Linked DNA regions of Homo sapiens: all the other regions are linked to region 2. Evidence: promoter capture Hi-C in 16 types of primary human blood cells and fetal thymus (Javierre and others, 2016). All regions are on one chromosome and are shown on one strand. Each heading gives the region's core, a stretch centred on a gene start or on the middle of the fragment in contact. The rest is flanking DNA. Distances are from core to core; before and after follow the strand shown.

Evidence for each region. Contacts are between HindIII fragments. The CHiCAGO score rates a contact against its expected background, and 5 or more counts as called.
Region 1: a fragment that was not itself captured here is called in contact with the fragment with the promoter of AGAP2-AS1 in region 2 in 4 of 17 cell types (M1 macrophages, M2 macrophages, M0 macrophages and 1 more); the score reaches 7.2 in M1 macrophages.
Region 3: a fragment that was not itself captured here is called in contact with the fragment with the promoter of AGAP2-AS1 in region 2 in 14 of 17 cell types (M1 macrophages, M2 macrophages, naive B cells and 11 more); the score reaches 19.3 in M1 macrophages.

Annotation. Positions count from the first base shown.
Region 1 is chr12:57,499,287-57,503,281 of GRCh38, forward strand. It overlaps MARS1 (methionyl-tRNA synthetase 1), which reads left to right. Exons shown (of 21, transcript NM_004990.4): 10 at 1,035-1,236. Among named protein-coding and RNA genes, the nearest start is that of MIR6758, 11 kb to the right of the region's middle. The HindIII fragment of the contact is 564 bases long and covers 2,439-3,002 here.
Region 2 is chr12:57,724,957-57,729,214 of GRCh38, forward strand. It overlaps AGAP2-AS1 (AGAP2 antisense RNA 1), which reads left to right and starts at 1,284. Exons shown (of 2, transcript NR_027032.1): 1 at 1,284-1,422; 2 at 2,009-3,400. AGAP2 (ArfGAP with GTPase domain, ankyrin repeat and PH domain 2) reads right to left here. Exons shown (of 19, transcript NM_001122772.3): 14 at 3,362-3,421; 15 at 2,981-3,129; 16 at 2,725-2,815; 17 at 2,404-2,626; 18 at 2,018-2,273; 19 at 241-1,838. The coding sequence ends at 1,596. RefSeq lists enhancers at 1,866-2,501, 2,502-3,135. The HindIII fragment of the contact is 18,142 bases long and covers 1-4,258 here.
Region 3 is chr12:57,582,080-57,585,998 of GRCh38, forward strand. It overlaps KIF5A (kinesin family member 5A), which reads left to right. Exons shown (of 29, transcript NM_004984.4): 27 at 523-550; 28 at 1,022-1,136; 29 at 2,139-3,919. The coding sequence ends at 1,100. Among named protein-coding and RNA genes, the nearest start is that of PIP4K2C, 7.2 kb to the right of the region's middle. The HindIII fragment of the contact is 577 bases long and covers 1,063-1,639 here.

The sequences.
Region 1 (3,995 bases), core at 1,471-3,970, 220 kb before region 2:
AAAAAAAAAAAAAAAAAAAAAGGCTGGGGCTGGGCGCGGTGGCTCACACCTGTAATCCCAGCACTTTGGGAGGCCGAGGCGGGCGGATCACGAGGTCAGGAGATCGAGACTATCCTGGCTAACCCAGTGAAACCCTGTCTCTACTAAAAATACAAAAAAAAAAAAAAATTAACCAGGCGTGGTGGTGGGCGCCTGTAGTCCCAGCTACTCTGGAGGCTGAGGCAGGAGAATGGCATGAACCCGGGAGGCAGAGCTTACAGTGAGCTGAGATAGTGCCACTGCACTTCAGACTTGGTGACGGAGTGAGACTGTCTCAAAAAAAAAAAAAAAAGGGCTGGGCGCAGTGGCTCACGCCTGTAATCTCAGCACTTTGAGAGGCCGAGGTGGGTGGATCACGAGGTCAGGAGTTCAAGACCAGCTTGGCCAACATGGTGAAACCCCATCTCTACTAAGAATACAAAAATTAGCTGGACCTGGTGGTGGGCACCTATAATCCCAGCTACTTGGGAGGCTGAGGCAGAGAATTGCTTGAACCCGGGAGGCTGAGGCAGGCAGTGAGCTGAGATCGCACCACTGCACTCCAGCCTGGGCGACAGAGCGAGACTCTGTCTCAAAACAAACAAAAAAACCCCCAAAACTTTACATAGTAGACAGGCCGCCAACTGATAGTGCTATGCAGTTTAGTTTAGCACTTGGACTGACTTAATTTTTAGGATATATTAAAGAACAGGCACAGTCCTATCCTATTGGAGATTTTTGTTAATGAAAAATACAAAACAGATAAATCTGTGTTCAACAAAAGTGAATTCTAAAGTGTTGAGGGGAAAGATTATGTGGGCAGTTGGGGAATATGTGTGATGGGTCTGAGCTCATCCAGTAAAACTCTCAAAAGATGAATAGATGCCCTTTTCCTTGAGGAGCCTTCTGCCTGATTTCTTTGTCACTGAGTTTGGGTCCCTGGTTGGAGTGGCAGGAGGAAGGGGTCCACCACGTCTTCTGACTGTCTCTTCCTGATCCCTGGCCCACCTCACCAGAATCACCCAGGACATTTTCCAGCAGTTGCTGAAACGAGGTTTTGTGCTGCAAGATACTGTGGAGCAACTGCGATGTGAGCACTGTGCTCGCTTCCTGGCTGACCGCTTCGTGGAGGGCGTGTGTCCCTTCTGTGGCTATGAGGAGGCTCGGGGTGACCAGTGTGACAAGTGTGGCAAGCTCATCAATGCTGTCGAGCTTAAGGTAAGAGGAGGGTCTCCATGGGAGCCCGGAAGGAGACAGTCCTTATTCTTAAGGGACGCCCTTCCTGTCCCATTTAGGATTTTTATTTTAGCATTCTAGACCTTTAACCAGTGGCCCTTTCTGCCCCATCTCAGCAACTCGTCATTTAGTTCATTTGAAAAATACTCCCTGAGCACTTACTATGTGCTGAGCACTGTGCTAAGAAACAGACAAGTTGAGTTTATATTTCCCAACCTTTGGTCTTGCATCACACCACCTGATCTACATTTGTTTAGATCCTTCTCTCTTCTTTAAATATCTTCTCTTCTAGCCATTTGTTAATTTATTTCTTCATTCATTTATTCAACATACATTTTTTGAATCCTTAGAATAGGCCAATTACAATTCTGCGTGCTGGGGGTATGGCAATGAATAAGACAGATTTTATTTAGTATGGTCAGGAGACCAACACTAACTAAGGAAATGATATAGAATAAACTGCCAGGAAAATGTGACAGAGAGTGACTTCTGGGGGAAGATCTAACTTAGGTAGATAGGGAAGGCCTTTCAGAGGCAGTAACATTTGAACTGAGAGTTTAACCAAAGAATTAGGAGCAAGCCAGGCAATAAGAGGTTAAGAATGTTCTAAGCGGAAGGACTAGGAAATGCAAAGGCCATGAGGCAGCTAAGAGCTGAAAAGGCAGAATTGGCAAGGCCAGTATAGCACTAGCACAGTGAGTGAGGAGGAGGGTAGACTGAGATGAGGTGAGAGAGATGGCAGGGGCCAGATCACCAGGGCCTGTGAAGCCATTGTGGGAATTTAGATTTTATTCTGGTGAATGACAAGCTGCTCTGTGGAAAATGGATGGCAGGGAAGCAAGAAATAAAGTATGTTGAAGGGGCTGGGCATTGGTGGCTCATACCTATAATCCCAGCACTTTGGGAGGCCAAGCTGGGTGGATCACTTGAAGCCACGAGTTTGAGACCAGCCTGGCCTGTAACATGGCAACCCTGTCTCTACTGAAAATACAGAAATGGCTAGGTGCGGTGGCTCACGCCTGTAATCCCAGCACTTTGGGAGGCTGAGGTGGGCAGATCACTTGAGGTCAGGAGTTTGAGACCAGCCTGGCCAACATGGTGAAACCCTGTCTCTACTAAAAAAATACAAAAATTAGCTGGGTGTGGTGGCGGACCCCTGTAATCCCCGCTTCTTGGGAGGCTGAAGCTTGAGAATCACTTGAACCTGGGAGGCAGAGGTTGCAGTGAGCTGAGATTGCGCCACTGCATTCCAGCCTGGGTTACAAAGTAAGACTCTGTCTAAAAAAAAAAAAAAACCACAAAAATTATCCAGGCCGTGGTGGCGCACACCTGTAATCCCAGCTACTTGGGAGGCTGAGGCAGAAGAATTTCTTGAACCTGGGAAGCGGAGGTTGCAGTGAGCCAAGATTGCCACTGCATTCCAGCCTGGGTGACAGAGCAAGACTGTTCCCCCTCCACCAAAAAAAAAAGTATGGAGAAGGATTTGGAGGCAACAAGGCTACAACCCAGAAATGGGATAATGGTGGCTTGCACTAGGTTAGTAGCACTAGAAATGGAAAAGAAAAAATAGACTTGAGGTATATTTTTGGAGGTAAACTCCACGGAGTTGGATAGACTGGAATTTGGGATGGTCAGGAAAAAGATGCCTTGTAAGTTTTTGGCCTGAGTAGATGGTAGTACCATCTGTGAACGTGAGTGAGGAGAACAGGCTTTCAGGTGGGATGCAGCCATACTGTTTGGGTTTGTTAAGCTTGAGATGCCTGTTAGATAGCCAGGCAGAGAAGTCAGGTAGACAGTTGGATATTAGGCATATGGAGTTCAGGAGAGAGGTCCTGAGGAATTATAATTTCTCACCTTCAAAAACTCAGATCAAAACTCACTTGGGGCCAGGTGTGGTGGCTCACGCTTGTAATCCCAGGACTTTGGGAAGCTGAGGCGGCCGGATCACCTGAGGTCAGGAGTTCAGACCAGTCTGACCAACATGGCGAAACCCCGCCTCTACTAAAAATACAAAAATTAGCTGAGTGTGGTGGTGCGTGCCTGTAATCCCAGCTACCAGGGAGGCTGAGGCAGGATAATCTCTTGAACCTGGGAGGTGGAGGTTTCAGTGAGCTGAGATTACGCTACTGCACTCCAGCCTGGGCGACAGAGCGAGATTTTGTCTCAAAAAAAAAAAAAAAAAGCAACAACAACAAAAAAAAAACAAGCCAGGCACGGTGGCTCACGCCTGTAGTCCGCGCACTTTGGGAGGCTGAGGCGGGCAGATCACGAGATCAGGAGTTTGAGACCAGCCTAAACAACATGGTGAAACTCCATCTCTACTAAAAATACAAAAATAAGCCGGGCGCGGTGGCACGTGCCTATAATCCCAGCTACTCAGGAGGCCGAGGCTGGAGAATCGCTTGAACCCGGGAGGTGGAGGTTGTAGTGAGCCAAGACTGCACCACTGCACTCCAGTCTGGGCAACAGAGTGAGACTTCGTCTCAAAAACAACAACAACAACAACAACAACAAAACTCTACTACAAAGCCCTCTCTGAAAGATGGAAAAAAGAGCAACAACAAAAAACTCGAAAGTTTTCATTCATTAGCTCCACCTAACTGTTCACTCCATTAGCCATCACCCTTCCATGTTTATATAGTCAGTTTATGCCACACAAATAAATTTATTTTGTAAAGATCTGCACTTGTTTCTTTTTTTTTTTTTTTTTGAGATGGAGTTTTGCTCTTGTTGCCCGGGCT
Region 2 (4,258 bases), core at 34-2,533:
TTAAGAGTCAGTGCCTTCTCTGTTCCCAGGGTCCCCACTGACTCCAACCTGCCCACGTCCTCCACTACATGAACCCAGAACTGTTGTACATGATGGAACCACCTCCATGCCCATGGGTACTGTCCTGCCACCAGCCCCAGTGGGAGGCACCTCTGCCTGTCCCTGTCCAACCCCAGTACCCCATCTTGACCAAGGCCATGCCCTGACCTGCCTCCAAGAACAGACCAGCAGCTCACCCCCTAGACAAAATCACTTCCTCTTTAATTGCTGTTGAAGAAGATTCACACCACTGCCTCCAAGGAGATGGGGGGGCATTTCCCCCTTGCCCCCACCTCTCTCCCCTCCCCAATTACCTGGTCCTTTGCAAACTATTTTAGCCAGAAAAAAAAAAAAAAAAAAAGACCGGAAACCACTGACACAGACAGCCCAAGGGCTGGGTTGGCTGAGGGAGGCAGGGCTGGGCCAGGTAAGTCCGCCCTATCACCCAGTTTGTGGGGAAGGGGCAGGGGGCCTGGAAACCCTCCCAGCCACCTCGAATCCTCTCAGCCCTGGCTGGGAGAGGTCACGGGGGTGAGGAATGGCTCTGGAGCTGCTCCAGTGGGAGGGAGGGGCTGGACAGAAAGAATAATGGGGGAGGGGTCCCACTGTAGGGGTGCCCCCTACCCCAGATCACCACGGGCGCTGCACAGTCACAGGTACGCAGTCACGGTCACAGACACAACCCGAGAGCACCCCCACCCCAACCCACCCCCTGCCCACCCTGGGCTTCCCCTACCCCAAAACGCCCTCCCCACGCCCCTGCCCGCCCCCATCCCCATGTTGGGGAACAAAGCAATAAATTACAAGGCCCCCGCAGCCCTCTTAGCCCGCTCCTGCTCCATCCCTTCTCCCTCCCAAGATAGTAGTGGGAGGGACCCAGGCTCTTGGTTCCCCCCGGACTCTTTAGCTTCCACCCATGGGTAGGTGTAGGGGACGTCCTGGTTTCCACTACTCACGGTCCCTTTCACGGAAAGGGTTGGGAACCCCCACCCCCATGAGCAGCAGGGGTCCTGCCCCTCGCTGCCCTTGCCCCCTTCACTGGGCAGTGAGATGAGCATGGAAGGGGTAGGGTTTCCGTATTGGCCCCAAGTCCCGGGGCTAGCCCTCCCATGTACTAAACCCTCCCTCTGGCGTGGCGTCGCCCCAGGAGCCAGCCTGGGTATGGGCTCCCGCCCTGGGATTGTTGAGCTCGGGCAGGACCGGGTCTTCTTTCCGCCCCTAGGGGGCACAAGCGGGCATGTCCAAGCGCCTAGGAGCCCGTACCGCTGGGGACCTCCCCTTCCGCGAACCCCGAGCGGGTAGACCCAGAGCAATCCGAGTGTGGAAACAATGGAGAGGGGGCGTGTTGAGCTGGGGTCTCCATGCCTCGTTGGGGAGAGGGAGGTGAGTTTGTGTCTTCTGGAAGGCGTGGGGGCTGTGCCCTCGTGGGGGTAGGAAGTGCTCCCGTGGGGCGGGGTGCGGATCGGAGAGGTGAGTGGGTGCGTCTGTCCAGCGGTCCGCCCGGTGTGGTCGTGCCCGGCCCGCGTGGGGATGGGGGTGTCTCTCCCGCTGGGCAACTATACCAGCGCAACCGGGGCGTCGGCGCGGCCCACGCTAGCGGCGCTGCTCCGGCGGCGGGGGCTGGGCGTGGCGGTGATGCTGGGCGTGGTGGCCGCGCTGGGCGTGGTGGCCGCGCTGCCGCCCTCACCCGGGCAGCCGTGCTGGAGAAGGATGTCGGCGCACAGCTGGCTTCCAGCCTGGCGGGCGTAGAACAGCGCCGTGCGGCCCTGGGCGTCACGGGCCGCCACGTCCGCGCCGTACTAGAGGGCGGAAACGGCCGCGTGACCGCGCGTCCCCAGGGCGCCCACACCCGGCGCCGCCTCCCCCACATGGCCAAGCCTACTTCCGGGGTCCCTCTGGGAATTTCGGGCTTTCCCGCGCCAGGCGTTTTCCGAGATGAAGCCTCAAAGACCCCCTTTCCTCCCCCCAGCTCACGTACCCACAGCAGCAGTTGCGTGATGACGACGTGGGCGAGCTCGGCCGCCAGGTGGAGTGGGGAGCGCAGCTGTGGGTCCTCTACGCTGGTGTCGAGCGGCCCGTGTCGCGCATGGGCCAAAAGCAGGAGAACGGTAGCCACGTCCTGGGCCTGCACGGCGGCCCACAGCTGGCGGCCCAGCGGCTCCTCCGAGGTGCTCAGCGGCGCCAGGAACAGTAGCTGCTCGTACTTGGCGCGAATCCACGACTCGCGCTCCTCCCTGCAAGACCAGGGATCAACGGAAAAGGCTCTAGGGACCCCCAGCCAGGACTTCTGCCCCTACCCACGGGACCGTCTCAGGTTCGCACACCCTCAGCAACCCTCCCCCCGCTCTGTTCCCTCACGCTTACCGCGAAGAGTCCCGCGAGGGCTTGGCACGGCCTCGCGTGTCGCTTTCCCACACGCGGTTGGCCGTGTCGTTGCCAATAGCCGTCAGCACCAGGGTCAGCTCCCGTGGCCAGTCGTCCAAGTCCAGCGAGCGAACGCGGGACAGGTGTGTGCCCAGGTTGCGGTGGATGCCAGAACACTCGATGCAGATGAGGGCGCCCAGGTTCAAGCTGGCCCACGTGGGGTCTGCGGAAGGAGCGTAGAGGTCGGCTCCCAGCCGGGCAGCACAGGCACCCCGGCATTCACTACACTCCCTAGCCCCTCCGCTGCCTCCTGGCACTCACTGGGGGCCCCGCAGTCCACGCAGATTGAATTCCCCTTGGCGTTCCGGATCGCCTGGATGGCCACGGCCTCGCTTTGGCTGTCTGTGCGCAGCTGCAGAGAGGGTTTGGGTTGGCACTGACTCTGCCTCCAAGCCCCACCTCCTTCTCAGACACCTCTGCTCTCCTCTCACACGACTTCGGCCGTGTCGTTGCCAATGGCCGTCAGCACCAGGGTCAGTTCCTGCGGCCAGTCCTCCACTCCACCTCAAACTCTTACCTTGACCTTGCTGCTCTCACAGCATTGCAGACTGGCTAGGATCTGACTCTCGATGGCCTGGACCCAGGCATCCCGCTCCTCAAAACTGGCTGCCTCAAAGTGCCACGTCTGACCCGTGCTGGACACGATCAGGAACTCAAAGTTTTCCTCTGAGTGGGGGATGGGATGGGGTCATTAAGGGACAGAGTTCAAGCAGGGGCTGCCTTTCCCAAGACCGTCCTCCCTGATGTCCATCCCGAGCCCCTGGGAGTGGGGCAGTGGGGGTAGGGAAAGCAGAGGGTGGGGGGCAGCAGGAAGCCCGAGCACATGCAGGGGAAGGCGGGGGCACCCCCACCCTTCTGCACCCCAGCTGAGCGCCCCTCCCGGCTCCCCACTTGTTACCTGCTTTATAAATATTTCTTAAACTACCAAAGGATTTTAGTTTCCACATTTTGCGCTTGGCTGGTTTCCCGAAGCGAAGGAGATAGAGATAGAATGGAGAGCAGAACAGAGAAAGAGAGACCAAGAAAGAAGGAGAAAAAGACAGGTAGATGGAGAGATGGAGAGAGATAGTGACAGAGTGCCAGAGACAAAGCAGGACAGACAGATGGGGAGAGAAAGCAGAACTAAAGTCAGTGGCCCCGGAGCAGAGTGGAACAGAAGCCAAGAGCCATGAGAGTAGGCAGATCTGGAACCTGGGTCTGAGCACCCGGCAGAGAGCAGGGGCAGCAGGGATGGGTTATCAAGACCAGCGAGGAGCTGGACCTCTGGGAGAAGAAGGGAGGGTCAGGATCTGAGTGAACACGGGGGAAGGGGACAGAAGCTGGGGCGCAGGGCTGAGATGAGAGGGCCCTGGGGCTGGTGGCGGTGGGGGTGCGGGGAATCACTGAGGGACAAGAATGGGGATCACTATGGTCAAGGGCTGTTGGGGAGCACTTGGCAATAGAAAGTTATCGGGAGAAGGCCGGGCACGGTGACTCATGCCTGTAATCCCCACCGCCTGTAATCCCAGCACTTTGGGAGGCCGAGGCGGGCAGATCACGAGGTCAGGAGATCAAGACCATCCTGGCTAACACAGTGAAACCCAGTCTCTACTAAAAAATACAAAAAATTAGCCGGGCATGGTGGCAAGTGCCTGTAGTCCCAGCTACTTGGAAGGCTGAGGCAGGAGAATGGTGTGAACCCGGGAGGCAGAGCTTGCAGTGAGCCGAGATCGCACCACTGTACTCCAGCCTGGGTGACAGAGTGAGACTCCATCTCAAAAAAAAAAAAAAAAAAGAAAAGAAAAAAAAAAGAAAG
Region 3 (3,919 bases), core at 101-2,600, 140 kb before region 2:
AAAAAAAAAATACATATAGCCAGGTGTGGTGGCATGCACCTGTAGTCCTAGCTACTTGGGAGGTTGAGATAGGAGGATTGCTTGAGCTCAGGAGCTTAAGGCTGAAGTGCACTGTGAATACACCTGTGAATAGCCACTGCACTCAGCCTGGGCAGCATAGTAAAGCCCCATCTCTAAAATAATAATAATAACACATATGAAGAAAAAAGTGACCCTGTACCTACAGCCTGAGCACTGCCCAGCCCTTTAGGTCTCAGGCTGCCTGGGAGTGGATTCCTCCTATTACCACGCCAATCCCAGCCCTTGCCTTCCAGTTCCCTTTTCCTCTCCTTGGTGAGGGGCTGCAGAAACTTTTTCTCGAACAAAATAATGATGTAGCTTGGGATAACTAAGGAGAAAGTGTCACAGCTTATCTTTTTCTCTAAGGGATTAAGATGGGAGAGGGTTTGCGCAAACTGTTTCTAACACCCAATCTCCTTTTTTCTTCTTCTAATCCTGTGTTCTCAATGATGATCTCTTCAGGAAATGCCACAGATATCAATGACAATAGGTACAACAGTCCCCACTACCCCTGGGTTCTCTGGGTGGGACCAGAAGAAATGATTAAATTTCCCTTGTGCCCCACTTGGAGGTTCCTGGAGCCTTTGGGGAAGGGGGAGGGAGTGAGACTCATTCTTTTCATCACTGTGTTGTCCAGGAGATCCAGTCATTCCCCTGCCTCAGTGCAGAATATCTCCCCTCCTCCAATCCCATCTGTGGCTTCTCCCTATTCCAGTGATAAGGTCTGGACGAAAACAACGTGGGCATCTGACGACTGGGTTTCTCTCCTACCTTTGGAAGCCTTGTGACATTGGACAAGTCATTTACATCCCTCTGGCCTTGAGTTTCCCTGTATTCCTGTAAAACACAAATAGTCCCTGCCGTTTGTGATCTCACAGGGACACTCTCAGAGCAGAGTAACCATGATGACAGGAATACTTTAATTTCTATGGAGCTGATCATGGTGGGTCTCTTCCTCCAGGAGTGACCTGCCGTGTGGCTATGAGGCTGAGGACCAGGCCAAGCTTTTCCCTCTCCACCAAGAGACAGCAGCCAGCTAATCTCCCACACCCACGGCTGCATACCTGCACTTTCAGGTAGCGTCAGGCTGCTTCCTCGGACCAGCCTCAGGTTGCTTCCCTTCTTGCTGACAGCCTCTTTGGTTTTCCTGCTGCTGCTTCTTTTTTTTTTTATCACCTCAAAACTTTAATTATGTAGTTACCCCTCAACTCCTGCTTTCCCCTGTTGGGGGCTACACCTGTGCTGCCCCATGTAATCTGGACGTTGACCTCCCGTGCCCCCTTTTGCTTTCCGTTAGGCTACAGTGGTAACCACAGTACTGTCTTTTTGCCACTAGGGGTCACTGTCACATGTCCAAAGAAGTGAGCTTGGCCGCTGTAGATTAGAACCACAGGGGTGGTAGACTGCAGATCTATCAGGAGACCCTAGGGGGCCATCTCAACCCCACCTCTTCCTCCACCCTGAAATAATTTTGGATGGATAGGTGTTTTTGGAACTAAGACATCTCCAGTTAAGGCGATGTTTGCTTCACGCCTGCACCTGTGTCCCATCCTCTTCCCATCTGTATATGCCACCAGTAAGCTTTAGGAAACGCCCCACGAAATCAGTCAGCGCTCCCCTCCCATCTTGCTCAGTGGAGGTGGCAAAGCCCCTCTTTTTCCTCCTCTGTCCCCAGGTGCTCTCCTCTAGCAGCACAGGAACCTTCTTTGTTCTTGTGTGTCACTGGGTTTCTCACCAAGGTTGCTTTAGGGCCCAGAAGTGGCACAGAGAACATGGCCAGTCTCTTACTGGGCTGCATCTAAGCTGAGCCCTCTCCAGGGGTTTCCCAGAATAGTAAACCAGGCACACACAGGCAGAAAAGTCTGAGAAGCAGAGAAGTAGGAATGCAGAAGAGGAGTTGGGGAGACCTAGGGGTGGAGGTGCAAGCCTGGGTCACGGGGGGCGGTGGTAGGGGGGTCTGCTTGTTGGTATTAAAGGAACAGGACAGTAAACCAAAGTGTGTGCAGATGCCACCTGTTCCTGTTCTGTGACTGAGCTACAAGCTGGGCCCTCACACCCTCTTTCTCTTTCTTTCCCAGTTTCTAAGAGGGACTGAGGCCTCTTCTCAGCATGCTGCAAACCTGTGGTCTCTGATACTAACTCCCTCCCCAACCCCTGTTGTTGGACTGTACTATGTTTGATGTCTTCTCTTACTTACTCTGTATCTCTTTGTACTCTGTATCTATATATCAAAAGCTGCTGCTATGTCTCTCTTCTGTCTTATTCTCAAGTATCTACTGATGTATTTAGCAATTTCAAAGCATAGTCTACCTTCCTTATTTGGGGCAATAGGGAGGAGGGTGAATGTTTCTTCTTTCTCATCTACTCGTCTCACACTGAGTGGTGTTAGTCACTGAGTAGAGGTCACAGAGATGACAAAAGGAAAAATGGGAGCTAGAGGGTTGTGACCCTTCATACACACACGCACGCACGCACACAAACATGCACACACGCATGCACACACACAAAGCCTTAAGCAGAAGAATGTCTTAGCATCATGAGACAGAGAAATAGACTCTTCCTCCCTCCTCTTTCACATATAGCACAGGGGAAGGTAAAATGGAAGGGCTGCTAATTGAGACATATAATTTTCTTCATACACCCCTCACCTTAATCAAAGGATTCAGGTGTTACTTCTGCCCTACAAAGTCTGCCTTTTGCCTCCCTCTTCCTGTTTTCCCCTGGACTGAGAAATGGGTTGCTCAAGGGACCATTTCCCTTTTTCTTCAAGCTCCTTTTGATATTCCCTGCCCCAGAGCTCATGACCAGAACCCAGAGCTGATTTAAAATATTTTGAAAAATGGAGGAGGCAGACTGCTCCCAGCAGCCTGTCAATGGCTGCTCATCTGTCCATGGAGATGGTTACAGGCAGGTGTAGTCAAAATGATTGATTCCTTGGGTTTGGGGGTGAATAGGCTGGGAAATTTCTGAGCCTTTTTTTTTTGTCACAGTGCCCTCAAGTTGAAGTGATGAGCTGGATTTCTTTCTTGTTCCATACTGGGCGGCATGCTCCTCCCATCTCCACCCCTTGGTTTGGGGGCTTCCAGCTCATTGGCAAAATCTCTCTAGTTGCCTTCCTTTCAAGCTGGAGCCTGACTTTTCCCCAATGTACATTTTTTTTTTCTCCACAAAGAGTTCCTTCTCTAATGTCCCCATCTGGTATTAAGTGCACTTTAAAGAAAGGGGCAGGGTGGATTTTCAAGAGGTGGGAAGCTCTAAGGCTTGACCCTGAGGGGTCTTCTCCCAGCCATTCTCAGCCCATATGCAGCACCCTCCATACTGAAGAGGACTGTTGTTTTAGTTTCAGACGGTCCTTTCCTTCCACATGGTGCTAAGGTGGTTTTCTAGGTAACTGCAGGGATGGAGGTCACTAGCCATTCCAAACCAGGAGAGAAAGTCTGGTGTCCTGATATCCAGTCTTTTCTAGGAGGAAGACCAAGATTCTCCAGCGGCAGGGCAGCCTATCACCCAACTTCTAAGTCAGGAAAGGAAGCTGAGTGGGAATGCCAGCTGGTAAGCGCAGGCTGCACTGGCCCATGACTCCTTCAAGGAAAAGAGGCCCTGCTCCCTTTACCTGCTGAGCTCCTTTTAGCAGTTAGGGAGAACTGCAGGGGGAAAAATACCAGTGGAGTGTGGAATAAATCCAAAGCAGTGATTTTTAAATGTTTTTCAAAAACAAATCTTACATAGAACCCCAATATAAAAAATAAAGTAATGCAGACCTGGGCAGTTTGCATTTTTTTTTTTTTTTTTTTTTGGTGGAAGAAGTCTCAGCGTCTCTTAGGACTGACTGTTCAAAGGCTCCTCAGCAAATGAGCCC